Regions from separate parts of the Homo sapiens genome. Here all the other regions are linked to region 2. Evidence: promoter capture Hi-C in 16 types of primary human blood cells and fetal thymus (Javierre and others, 2016). All regions are on one chromosome and are shown on one strand. The core of a region is centred on a gene start or on the middle of the fragment in contact, and the rest is flanking DNA. Distances in the headings are between cores, read along the strand shown. Region 1 overlaps ZNF784 (zinc finger protein 784). Region 2 holds the start of TMEM86B (transmembrane protein 86B). Region 3 holds the start of CCDC106 (coiled-coil domain containing 106).

Evidence for each region. The method cuts DNA at HindIII sites, captures the fragments that hold promoters and counts their contacts. A CHiCAGO score of 5 or more calls a contact.
Region 1: a contact is called between a fragment that was not itself captured here and the fragment with the promoter of TMEM86B in region 2, in 2 of 17 cell types (erythroblasts and megakaryocytes). The highest score is 6.2, in erythroblasts.
Region 3: a contact is called between the fragment with the promoter of CCDC106 here and the fragment with the promoter of TMEM86B in region 2, in 6 of 17 cell types (naive CD4 T cells, total CD4 T cells, non-activated CD4 T cells and 3 more). The highest score is 7.6, in naive CD4 T cells.

Annotation. Positions count from the first base shown.
Region 1 is chr19:55,618,092-55,621,883 of GRCh38, reverse strand. ZNF784 (zinc finger protein 784) reads left to right here. Exons shown (of 2, transcript NM_203374.2): 2 at 1-1,143. The coding sequence ends at 133. Among named protein-coding and RNA genes, the nearest start is that of ZNF784, 4.6 kb to the left of the region's middle. The HindIII fragment of the contact is 1,799 bases long and covers 1,254-3,052 here.
Region 2 is chr19:55,226,093-55,230,012 of GRCh38, reverse strand. It overlaps TMEM86B (transmembrane protein 86B), which reads left to right and starts at 1,250. Exons shown (of 3, transcript NM_173804.5): 1 at 1,250-1,322; 2 at 1,576-1,822; 3 at 2,450-3,375. The coding sequence starts at 1,272. The coding sequence ends at 2,832. PPP6R1 (protein phosphatase 6 regulatory subunit 1) reads left to right here. Exons shown (of 24, transcript NM_014931.4): 24 at 1-234. The HindIII fragment of the contact is 5,765 bases long and covers 1-2,932 here.
Region 3 is chr19:55,646,768-55,650,259 of GRCh38, reverse strand. It overlaps CCDC106 (coiled-coil domain containing 106), which reads right to left and starts at 2,048. Exons shown (of 5, transcript NM_001370470.1): 1 at 1,183-2,048; 2 at 951-1,055; 3 at 676-852. The coding sequence starts at 1,213. RefSeq lists an enhancer at 583-632 and silencers at 1,693-1,822, 1,853-1,972. The HindIII fragment of the contact is 17,145 bases long and covers 1-2,993 here.

The DNA.
Region 1 (3,792 bases), core at 904-3,403, 390 kb before region 2:
GGGGCTGGGAGACTCTGGAGGCCAGCTGGGCTCGTCGGCGGCTGAGGGGTCGGGGAGCGGGTGTGGGGTAGGGGACCCTGCGGAGGAGGGGCGGGGGGAGACCGCGAAGGTGAAGGTGGAGGCCGACCAGTAGGCTGCAGACCAGGGACATGGGTTAGTTAAGGCGGAGGTACGAGGCCGACCCGGGGAGGGGGACGGGGTGGGGAAACGGAGGCAGGGGACAGAAGAGGGGAGATTGGGGGAGAGATGACAGCTGCAGGGATGGTTGTGAGCCGCTAGTGATGGAGAGCAGAGGGAGAGGGCCAGGCTCCAGACTCCCACACGCCCACACAGCACCTCTGCCAGGCCTAGGAGAGGACAGGTGCAGCTCTTGCAGCTCTGCGGGTGTGCGGCCAAAGGCAAGGCCCACGGGCTGGATGTCACTTCCCCGACTGTCTCTTGGTTGGCTTGTCCTTGTGCAAGACCCAGCCTGTCACGACAGAGCCTGGGCACTTCAGAGGAGGAGCCAGGATCGAATGGAAGGGGGGAATTGGGGTCCACCATAGTCTTCTGCTCTGGTCCTCCACGGGTGGACCAGGATGGAGTCTCCTGCCTACCTCACTGCATTGCACTGGACCTGGGATGCCTATCCACCCTCTGGCAGAAGACACTCACCAGGTTATCTGTGAAGAGACTCTGGGATCCCATCACCTCAAAGCCAGAGGGTCCCCAAGTCACCGCTGAGAGCACTTGAGCCTCAAGGATGTAAGCCTGACCATAGGATCTTGACTCCAACAGCGGCAACCCCCACCCCCATTGTGGTCCGTCCTTAACCCATCCACTCTTCTTCGGAGGCAACTGAGAACACATAAAGCAAGCAGCTACCTAGCATCCCCCTCCTAAAGCTTTAGACTCAGAGCCCAGGGTCCCCCACAAGCCTCAAGGTAGCCTCAGGTTTCTCTAATTTCCTCCACTCCCAGTTCGAAGCAAACAGCTTACTGCCTAGTCCCCGCCAATCCCAAGGGCGGGCTGGCTGATGGCAGCATGGTGGGCTGGCCTGGGTGTGGAGTGAAAGAGTCACTGTGGTGGGGGCGAGAGGAGGACTTGGGAGCTGGAGGTGTGACACCTTCAGTTCTGTTCCTATTAAAGGACCTTCTGAAGGGCTTCTCTGTCGGTCTTGTATTCGGATTGTCCGCTTTGGGGAGTTGGGGGAGGAGGGGCCTCACCATGGTTTTGCCACCAGCAGTCAGTTGCATCATCTCTTCCTCCAAGCTTCTGTTTCCCCATCATCAGAATGGGGGGTGAGTAGGCCCCACTGTGGTTACGTGTTATGTGGTTCAGCTGTAGGAGAGGGGGGTCAGGGAAGTTTGGCAAAAGCACACTCAACATGCTTTGCATGCTTGTTGAGTGAGAGCCTCTGATTTGCACACCTTTCTGTTCACCCAGTGGGCCCCATGAGATAACTCACAGGCAACTCACAATGTGAACAGAACTCATTCCATTTTCCTCAAAGAAACCTCCATGCTTCTGATGTCATTGGCACCACCACCCAAGCTGGATACCTGGGCAGGTTTAAACCTTCTTCATCCTCATTCTTATGTCCAGTCCCTTATCAGTTTCCCTCAGTTGAGCCAGTTAATATCTTTGGAACTGGAACGTGTTTTCGGCATCACTACACTTGTAGACCAACAGTGGTCTCACACACAGACAACTGCACAGCAGTCCAGTGCCTGCATTTTTTTTTTTTTTTTTTTTTTTTTTTTTTTTTTTTTTTTTTTTTGAGATGGAGTTTTGCTCTTGTTGCCCAGGCTGGAGTCCAATGGCACAATCTCTGCTCACTGCAACCTCTGCCTCCTGGATTCAAGCACTTCTGCCTCAGCCTCCTGAGTAGCTAGGATTACAGGTGGGCGCCATCACGCTCAGTTCATTTTTGTATTTTTAGTAGAGATGGGGTTTCATCATGTTGGCCAGGCTGGTCTCAAATTCCTTACCTCAGGTGATCTACTCGCCTCGGCCTCCCAAAGTGTTGGGATTACAGGCGTGAGCCACTGCACCCGGCCACCTGCCCTCTTCATTCTCCATATGGCATCCATGCAGATCCTTGTCACCAAGACACAGCTCCTTGTGGCTTTGAGACGATTTGGAAATGTGAATGCCTACAGGAGCTGGGTGAAAATGTAAATACACGAGCAAGACGGCCAGGTTCAAGGGGAAAATATCAGCAACATGAAATAATGGCGATTGCCACCAGGTCTCAGAATTGGTATTCAACAAATTGGAGAGTGCCTCTTCAGAAGAGGGTAATGGCTGCTCAGCTCCGGAACACAGATTGGGTTGCCACATCTTCCAGTTTCTTTCAGAAGTTCCATTAGTTCACATTATGTAAAATCTTTTGATTTCCCAATGTTGGCAGTCAAGTCAAACTTTTTAAAAAATGCACAGACTAAACAAAAATGTGTTAGTGGTCATATTCGGCCTTGCAGCTGCCAGTTTCCAGCCTCTAGCCTATAAAATCACCCAAGCCCCACAGTTTGGAATTCAAGACCCTTCAGGGTTTAGCCCCCAGGAACCCAACCTCCAGCCATACTAATCTGTCTTAAATGCTCCAGAATAGCAGGGTTTAGTTCAACACACTAAACTCTCCGCCTGGAAATCTTTGCCACTTCTTTTTTTTTTTTTTTTTCTTATTTATTTATTTTTTTGAGACAGAGCCTTGCTCTGTCGCCCAGGATGGAGTGCAGTGGCATGATCTCGGCTCACTGCAAGCTCCGCCTTCTGGGTTCATGCCATTCTCCTGCCTCAGCCTCCCGTGTAGCTGGGACTACAGGCGCCTGCCACCTGCTCCCACCACCACACCCGGCTGATTTTTTGTATTTTTAGTAGAGACAGGGTTTCACCGTGTTAGCCAGGATGGTCTGGAGCTCCTGACCTCGTGATCCACCTGCCTCGGCCTCCCAAAGTGCTAGGATTACAGGCATGAGCCACCGTGCCCGGCCTCTTTGCCACTTCTTTACCTGGAAAACTCCAGTTGGTTTATGTCATCGTTCAGGGATCACCTTCTCCCCAAGAAGCTTTTCTAGCCCCCCTTCCACTCTGACAGGTGACTCCTCTGTGCTCCCTCAAGCCCTAGTGATACTTCCAAGTCCCTTACACTGTGAGGCTCCATTTCCATGTTACTGCTGAACCCTGAACCCTGGGGGCACTGGCACAACGTCTGTCTCATGCTGGGTCTTCAGCATTAGAACATGGAGCCACACAGGGTAGCTGCTCTCCCATGGGTCACACAGGACTCACCCAAGCAGCGCTCTTACCTAGTTTCATCTTCAAGTTTCTTTTTTTCCTTTTTTTTTTTTTTTTTTTTTTTTGAGATGGAATCTCGCTCTTGTCGCCTAGGCCGGAGTGCAGTGGCGCAATCTCAGCTCACTGCAACCTCCACCTCCTGGGTTCAAGTGATTCTCCTGCCTCAGCCTCCCGAGTAGCTGGGATTACAGGCACCTGCCATCACGCCCAGCTAATTTTTGTACTTTTAGTAGAAAGGATGGTTCACCATGTTGGCCAGACTGGTCTCGAACTCCTGACCTCAGGTGATCTGCTCGCCTTGGGCTCCCAAAGTACTGGGATTACAGGCATGAGCCACTGCACCTGGCCTCATCTTCAAGTTTCTGTACTGAAGTACTCTGGGACTGAAGTCCAAATTATTTATTTGTTGAGATGGAGTCTCACTCTGTCACCCAGGCTGGATGCAGTGGTGCGATCTCAGCTCACTGCAATCTCTGCCTCCTGAGTTCAAGTGATTCTCCTGCCTCAGCCTCC
Region 2 (3,920 bases), core at 1-2,500:
GTGGGGGCCGTGCCTTTGCCCAGACCCTGCACTTTCAACCAGGCCAGTCCGGCTCTGGGGAGCAGGGGCCTCCCCGGCAACAGCCCCAGGGGCCTTGAGGGTCTGAGGTCCCAGCCCTGTTGCCAAGTGACCTTGTCCCCAGCTCCCTCCTCCCAGGCTGGTGTGAGTGTGCGTGCGTTTGTGCCGAGCTTCTATTTCATATTGCAAATATAAATAAAGGAAGGCAGTTTACGATTCTGCTGGTCAGACCTTACGTTCTGGGATGCGGGGTGGGGAGCCTGTATTATCCCTGCACCCCAGAGGCTGGGGGTGCTCCTGACCCAGTCTGCCCCCACACTGTCCTGCCAGAGGGAGCCCTGTGGCTGCAGAGGCCCCAGGCTGGGCCAGGCACTGGCTGTGAGGGCTCCTGCCAGGTCTACCCCACCTGTGGGCAGGGCCTTGGGCAGAGGATAGAAGCCACCGACAGGCTCAAATCCCTGCTCCTGCCCCTGCTTACCCCCAGTAACCAAGCCCAGCATTGAGGCTGGGTACTGGCGCCCAGTAGGTCTGAGTCTTTCAGGTAGAAGGTAGAAGTGTAGGCTGCGTGTGCAGCGAGTGGCACCGGTGAGCGGCGCTGGGAAACCGGAGCGTGTGGACCGGGCCATGAGGACAGCGTCCTCACTGGGGTGGCAGTTGGCTTGGAGGTCACCTGGGGGCTCGCTCAGCTAACAGGAGAGGGTGCTTGTTCCCCGCATTCGTGGTGGTCCCTCCTGGTCACCCATTGAAGCAGTGTTTGTGGTGGAGCCCCTGAGGGCTTGGTGGGGTTGAGCAGAATGAGGAAAGGTTTCATGGAGCAGGGAGGGAGACGGCTAGGGCAGCAAGTGAAGGACAGACTCGCCTTCCCATCCCTCCAGGGGCACTCCTGCCAGCCAGCCCCTCTCCCGCTTCCCATGATGGGGTGGCTGTTGGAATTCTGCACCCCATCTCTTCTGATTGTTGGGGCCCAGGACAAGGGGACAGGCATTTGTGGGCCTAACCTCCCCAGGCAGATAGGAGGAGGAAGCCATGTCCCAGCAGGCTAGGGCAGAGGGACCCCCAGTGCCAACAGTGCTTTATCAGCGGGCGCCAGGCAGGGCCATCCCCAGGGTGAGGACAACATCTCCCTGGGCCCTGTTATCAGTCACAGAGTCCACAGGACGCTCCTTGGGTTAACGTGTAACCATGAGCCCTCCCCTCCACCCCCTGAAGCCACTCGCTCCCAGATTAGGTCGCTCTGGGGCTATCAGGCCAGCATGGACGCTGGCAAAGCGGGGCAGACCCTGAAGACTCACTGCTCAGCCCAGGTGAGAGCCTTCTGAGCTGTGCCTGGGGCTGGGGGGACAGGGCCCTGGAACCCCAGCAGCCGGCGGGTCTGGGAGCTGCTGTCCTTGAGTTGGTTGGGCCCTGGGAAGCTGGGTTCTGGCAGCCTGGTCCCTGAATGGGTCCAGCCTGTACAGCTGGGGTCCCAGGTGGGGGTGGGACAGGAGCCATGAGATCTGAGTCCCAAGAATGGGGGCTGGGCTGGGTTTCGGCTCAGTAGCTCCCCACTCCCCAAAGCGCCCAGATGTCTGCAGGTGGCTGAGCCCCTTCATCCTCTCCTGCTGCGTGTACTTCTGCCTCTGGATTCCCGAGGACCAGCTGTCCTGGTTCGCTGCCCTGGTCAAGTGCCTGCCCGTCCTCTGCCTGGCTGGGTTCCTGTGGGTCATGTCCCCAAGCGGGGGCTACACCCAGCTCCTCCAGGGAGCCCTTGTGTGCTCGGCTGTGGGGGACGCTTGCCTCATCTGGCCGGCAGCCTTCGTCCCTGGTGAGTGGAAGGTGCTGTGACGCTTTCCAGATGCCCGTGTGAGAGAGGCCCCAGCACTTGGATGGGAGCCTGGGTGCAGAGGGCTCCTGTGAGAGCTCCAGTGGTCAAAGGCACAGTGGGGGGCGCAGCCGTGACCGAGGCAGCTCACGCTCCAGCGAGGGGTGGGGGCAGGCGGTGTTAGGGCAGTAGCTGAGGTGGCGCAGAGGGCAGTGAGGACCTGCTGGAGGTACTGCAGTTTGAAGCAGGGTTGCTGAGGAAGGCCTCACTGAGGAAGTCACATTTGGGCAGAGCTGAAGGGCTGTATGCCTGTGTGGAGGAAGGGCGAGTGTAAAGGCTCCGGGGCAGGGACGTGTCAGGTGCTTGTAGCCCAGCAGGCCAGGGTGGCTGGCGCAGAGTGGCTGGAGAGCTGGAGGCCATGGGGCTTTGGAGGCCAAGGGAAGGTGGGGCCTCCTGGCAGTTCTGAGCAGAGCAAGGATGGACACTGCATGTGGGGAGACCTGCAAGGAGGCTCGGCCAGGGTGGGGCCTGGTGCTCTGGGATGGTCCTTCTCTTAGGCCCTGAGGGGTGACCTCGGGGCCATTCCCAGGATGGGCCTTCCTCACTGGTACCCCACCCCTCTCCCGCCAGGCATGGCCGCCTTTGCCACCGCCCACCTCCTCTACGTCTGGGCCTTCGGCTTCTCTCCCCTGCAGCCCGGCCTGCTGCTGCTCATCATCCTGGCCCCTGGCCCCTACCTCAGCCTTGTGCTCCAGCACCTCGAGCCGGATATGGTCCTGCCGGTGGCAGCCTATGGGCTGATCCTGATGGCCATGCTGTGGCGCGGCCTGGCCCAGGGCGGGAGTGCCGGCTGGGGCGCGCTGCTCTTCACGCTCTCTGATGGCGTGCTGGCCTGGGACACCTTCGCCCAGCCCCTGCCCCATGCCCACCTGGTGATCATGACCACCTACTATGCTGCCCAGCTCCTCATCACACTGTCAGCCCTCAGGAGCCCGGTGCCCAAGACTGACTGACTAGGGAGCTTGAAGGGCCGGTGTTCAGGCCCTCTCCTCCTGCAAGGACCTGGGCCTCCCAGCCCAGCCCAGCCTGAGAAATACCCTCAGCAGCGAAGCTTCCTGACGCCTGTCTGCAGGCGCCGCTGCCGCCGTCGCTTCTGGCTGAAGACGTTTGAGGACGATTTGCGGAATTCCAAGTCCACTACTGGGTTCCAGCTGCCTTCCCCCGGTTCTGACTCCAGATCCCTGGCTCCTCAGCCAGGCCCACATGGAGCCCTCCCAGCCACCAGCCTGCCTCCATGTTCACTGTCGGCCCCACAGCCTGCCCGCCCCCTGCTGCTGCTCTGAATCCGTTTTCCCTGTGGGTGTGGAACCGTAGATGTTGCTGTTACCGTAGGAGAGGCCTCGGGGAGGGTCATGATTGTGATAAACCATCGCGGTTAATGACAGCAGAAGGTTCTTTGTCGCTCCCCATGGACCAGGCCTGGTGCCCAGTGGGACCCTCCATGGCCCTCTGGTGGGGGGATTCGGGGGGATAAAGTGAGGATTGTGCAGAACTGAGCCAAGAGGACTGTTTGGTCTTTGTGTTAGTTTCCTGAGGCTGCTGTCACAAATTACCCCAAGCCAGATGCTTTGAAACAAGATGAATGGACTCTCCTGCAGTTCTGGAGACCCAAAGTCCAAAATCCGGGTGTTTTCCGGCCCATGGTCCCTCTTGAGGCTCCAGGGAAGAATCCGTCCTTGCCCTCTCGGCTTCTGGAGGCTCCCGGGAATCCCTGGCTTCCATCGGCCTGTGGCTGTGTCTCTCCGTCTTCATGTGACTGTCTTCAACTGGCAGCCTCCCTCTGTGTCCGCATCCTTCTAGGGACACAGGTCATTGGATTTAGGGCCCACCCTAAACCCAGGGTGATTCTATCTCAAGATCCTTAAGTATGTCTGCAAAGCCCCTATTTCCAAGTAGTGTCACCTGCAGAGGTATCTGGGGTTAGGACTTGGACATATCTTTCTAGGGGATACAACCCGCTGCAGTCACATGCAGTATCGGGAGAAGGGTGGGAGGCTTGAGGATGAGGGGTCTTGGAGGAGGGAGGGCGGCAAGGGGGTAG
Region 3 (3,492 bases), core at 799-3,298, 420 kb before region 2:
TGAATTATAGCAGAGCAAGGTATGTGGGTGGGGACTGCCCAGGAATCAGGCAGGGTTTGAGGGACAGCACCTGCTGGGGTCACCACCCAAAAAGGCCCACAAAGGAAGGGACTTAATGTCTTTGATGGGGAAGGAGTGCTCATTAACCAAGGATGGGACAGGGTGGGTGGGAAGATGGCCCCTGGTGTCACAGAGGGGAGGGGGGGACAGGAGGAGGCCGGATGGCTGGACTCTTGGATCTTGGAGAAGACAGGGACGGGAGGAGGAGCAGGGGCCCCCTGAGGAAACCCAAAGAACTAGGGTGGGCCTCTTGGCCAAAGAGATGAAGGAAGGTCCCCCTAGGAGTCAGAAGAGAGGGGCTCTCAGGTGCCAGGGTCCCTGAAGTCACCATGGGCCAAGGAAGCAGATGGCAGGGCACTGGAGGCTGATGGGATTTGGGGAGCTGACGGAGAAGGCAGGAGGACGGGCCCCAGTAGACAGTTCATGGGGATGAGGCCCTGGAATCAAGTGAGGAGGCAGCTGGGCCTGGGGGCCCAAAACAGGCAGGGGACTAGCAGATAGGGCCAACATGGCAGGTCCCACCCAGCCAGCCAAACAGTGGAGCCTTGAGTCTGGGTGAGCGGGTACCCAGTAGCGGGACAGGGAGGCATGTGGATCAGAGCACCCCACACACACCTGCCTCCATCCGAGCAGAAGAGATGAATTTGTCCAGCTGGCACCGCAGGAAGTCCCTCTCTTCCTCCAGGTCCTCGATGCGCTTCTGCAGCCAGGAGTTCCTCTCCAGAGCCATGTGCAGCTGGGTCTTGACGCTGTTCATCAGAGCCAGGGCGGAGGACGCAGCCTCCGGAGGCTCTAGGGACACAGCGAGGGTGGGGGGACCAGGTCACACCCTGGGACTCAGGGCTTGGCTTCCCAGCTGACTCCAGTCCCTCCACACCCCCTCAGCTCACCCTCGAAGTTTCTCCGAGAGGGGCTCAGACTGTAAAAGATCTGTGGGTCTAGGTGGGGTGCCTCATCGAAGGGAATGGAGATCTCGAAGGTCTCATCGTCCTTCACTGGAGAGGAGAGGCCCCGGGTTACCCCAGAGAATTCCCCGGGCCTCTCAGGCCACCCCCCAACCACGGCAGCCTGGAGCCGACCGCACTGGGACCCAGGGTAGGGAAGGGGACCCAGCTTCCTCACTTGTCCGCCTCCGACTGCTCCGGTCATTCATGGCGCGGCTTCCTACGGACCCCAGCAGCCGAGGGCCTCAGGGGCACTGGACAGAAACGGCAGCCACAAATGGAGAGACGCAGATGGACTGGAGGGTCCATCCTGGGGGAGGTGAAGTGAGACAGGAGGGACCTTCTGGCCTGGACCCCTGGTCTGAGGGAGGAGGGAGCCTGGACCCCAGGACTGAGGCAAAACGCGCCTGGGCTTCAAACTCCTGGGCTCCTGGAGTCAGGGGCAGGGGGCCCAGCCGCCTAGGTCCTGGGGGAGAAGTGAGCTGGGGACGTGGGCTCCTGGGTATCGAAGGAAAAGGAAGCTGAAGCCCTAAATTGCTGGGTGCCCCAAGGGGTCGCCTGACCAGGGACACCTAGCCTGAAGGGGAAGGACCCTCTCTCATCGCGGGCCACTGCCAGGCCTAAGGAAGAGGCAGGTGCAGGGGGAAACTGCCCCAACTTCCCAGGGTAGGAGGAGGTCCAGCCCGTGCGCGCTGCCTCCTCTACCTTCGGGGCCCCCACACCCCTCCCCCGCACTCGCGTGGGCGGGCGGACCGTCCCCCGGTGGTGGGGGCTGGGCGCGTGCGCAGTACGGGGAAAGGTCACGCGTGGGGGTGCGCCCCCCCCGCCCCCGCCCTTTGTCCCGCGGGTGGGAGGGGGAGCGGTCGTGGAACGATTCCAGCGGGAACATGCACTAGGGCGGGGGTGCAAACGCGGCCACCATCCCCCGCCCGCGGGTGCCCGGGGTCCGAGGGGCCGAGGCCCCCCGCGCTCACCCACCCGCTCGCGGAATCCGGCTCGGGGACCGACGGCGGCGGCGCCCATGCCCGGCGCCGGGGAGCGTCTGCAAAGTGTCACGGGGAGCCGAGGGAAGCGCCCACCCACCCGCGAACAGGCGGGGCGGCAGGGGAGCGTGTCGTGGAACTGAGCGACGGAACGGGCAGGGACGCGGGGACTCGCCCAGTCGGGCCAGGCTAGCGCCCCTCGTTGAAGAGTCCCCGGGTCCAGGTGAGGCCCGCCGTTTGCGGCAGAAGCAGAGGGTCTGCACTTGCGCGATAGCCCCTTACAGCACTCCCCCGCCCTCCCCGAAGCTCAGGCAGGGAACATCACGAAATTCCCATCCTGGAGAGCTGGCGAGTCTCCGGGGGTCCCCGGATTGGGTGGCGGTGTGCCCAATGGGCCCAGAAGGCAGGAGAGTGTTTGAGACACCGAGAAAGTTGGAGCGAAAGGAGAATCTACTTTTAACGCTCTCTCAGGAACTAGCCAGCGCGGACCCCTCAGAGCTCCCCTACCTCCTACAGCCAGACCCCAAGGTTCTCAGGGATGTGGGGGCCAAAATCGGGGGAGTTACCCCTCTCCCGGAAAATGAGGGCCAGGAACACGCCACCCCCATCCCCATGTTGGTAATTAAGAGCTGGCTTTGGAGCAAAGCTAGATTCCAGTCCTGACTGTTCCTGCTCCTCCCCAGCCTGTTAACTCACCTGCAAAATGGGGAAATTACAAGCCCTTCTAAATTTATTGTGAGGATGCAGTGATGCGACACACAGAAGCTCAGCCCAGCACCTGGCCATCGTCAGGGCTGAAGAGAGGAGCGCTGCTGGTATTATTTGAGGTCAGATGGTGGGGTATGATGGCAGCCTCTGGGAGGCTCTTTCCCACTCTGGGGAGTATGAACGGAAGATTTGTTCTTCCTCCCAAAAAAACAGGTCGGAAGAGCAAATGAGGCCTAGCACAGTGCCTGGCACAAAATAGGCAAGAAAAATGAATGAATAAGCAGATGTTTATTAAGCTTCAGGCTCAGCTCCACCTGCCTCTCCTGTTCACCAGAAGCATCCAAGCTCTGGACTGTGGCCAGCCCTTATAAGAGCAAGGTCTTAACCCGATGGAGGGAGAATCTAAATGTCTGCACCGCCTGCAAAGCTGTGACCATGATCCTCCCCTCCCCACTTTACAGATTAACTGCAGCCTGGTCCAAAAATTCCAGGGGGAGCCATCTGCCCTAGATTGGTCTTTTCCAAACTACAGGTTCATGGGTGGAGAATTCAATAGAATAGGATGAAATCAGCAGTTTAAAAAAATATTTAGCCGGGCGTGGTGGTGCACACCTGTAATCCCAGCTACTCAGGAGGCTGAGGCAGGAGAATCGCTTAAACCGGGGAGGTGGAGGTTGCAGTGAGCCGAGATCGCACCACGCTCCAGCCTGGGCGACACAGCGAGACTCCGTCTCAAATAGTAATAATAATAGTTGATGGAAAAAAAAATGCACAAACTAAAGCTAACTATGGTAAAG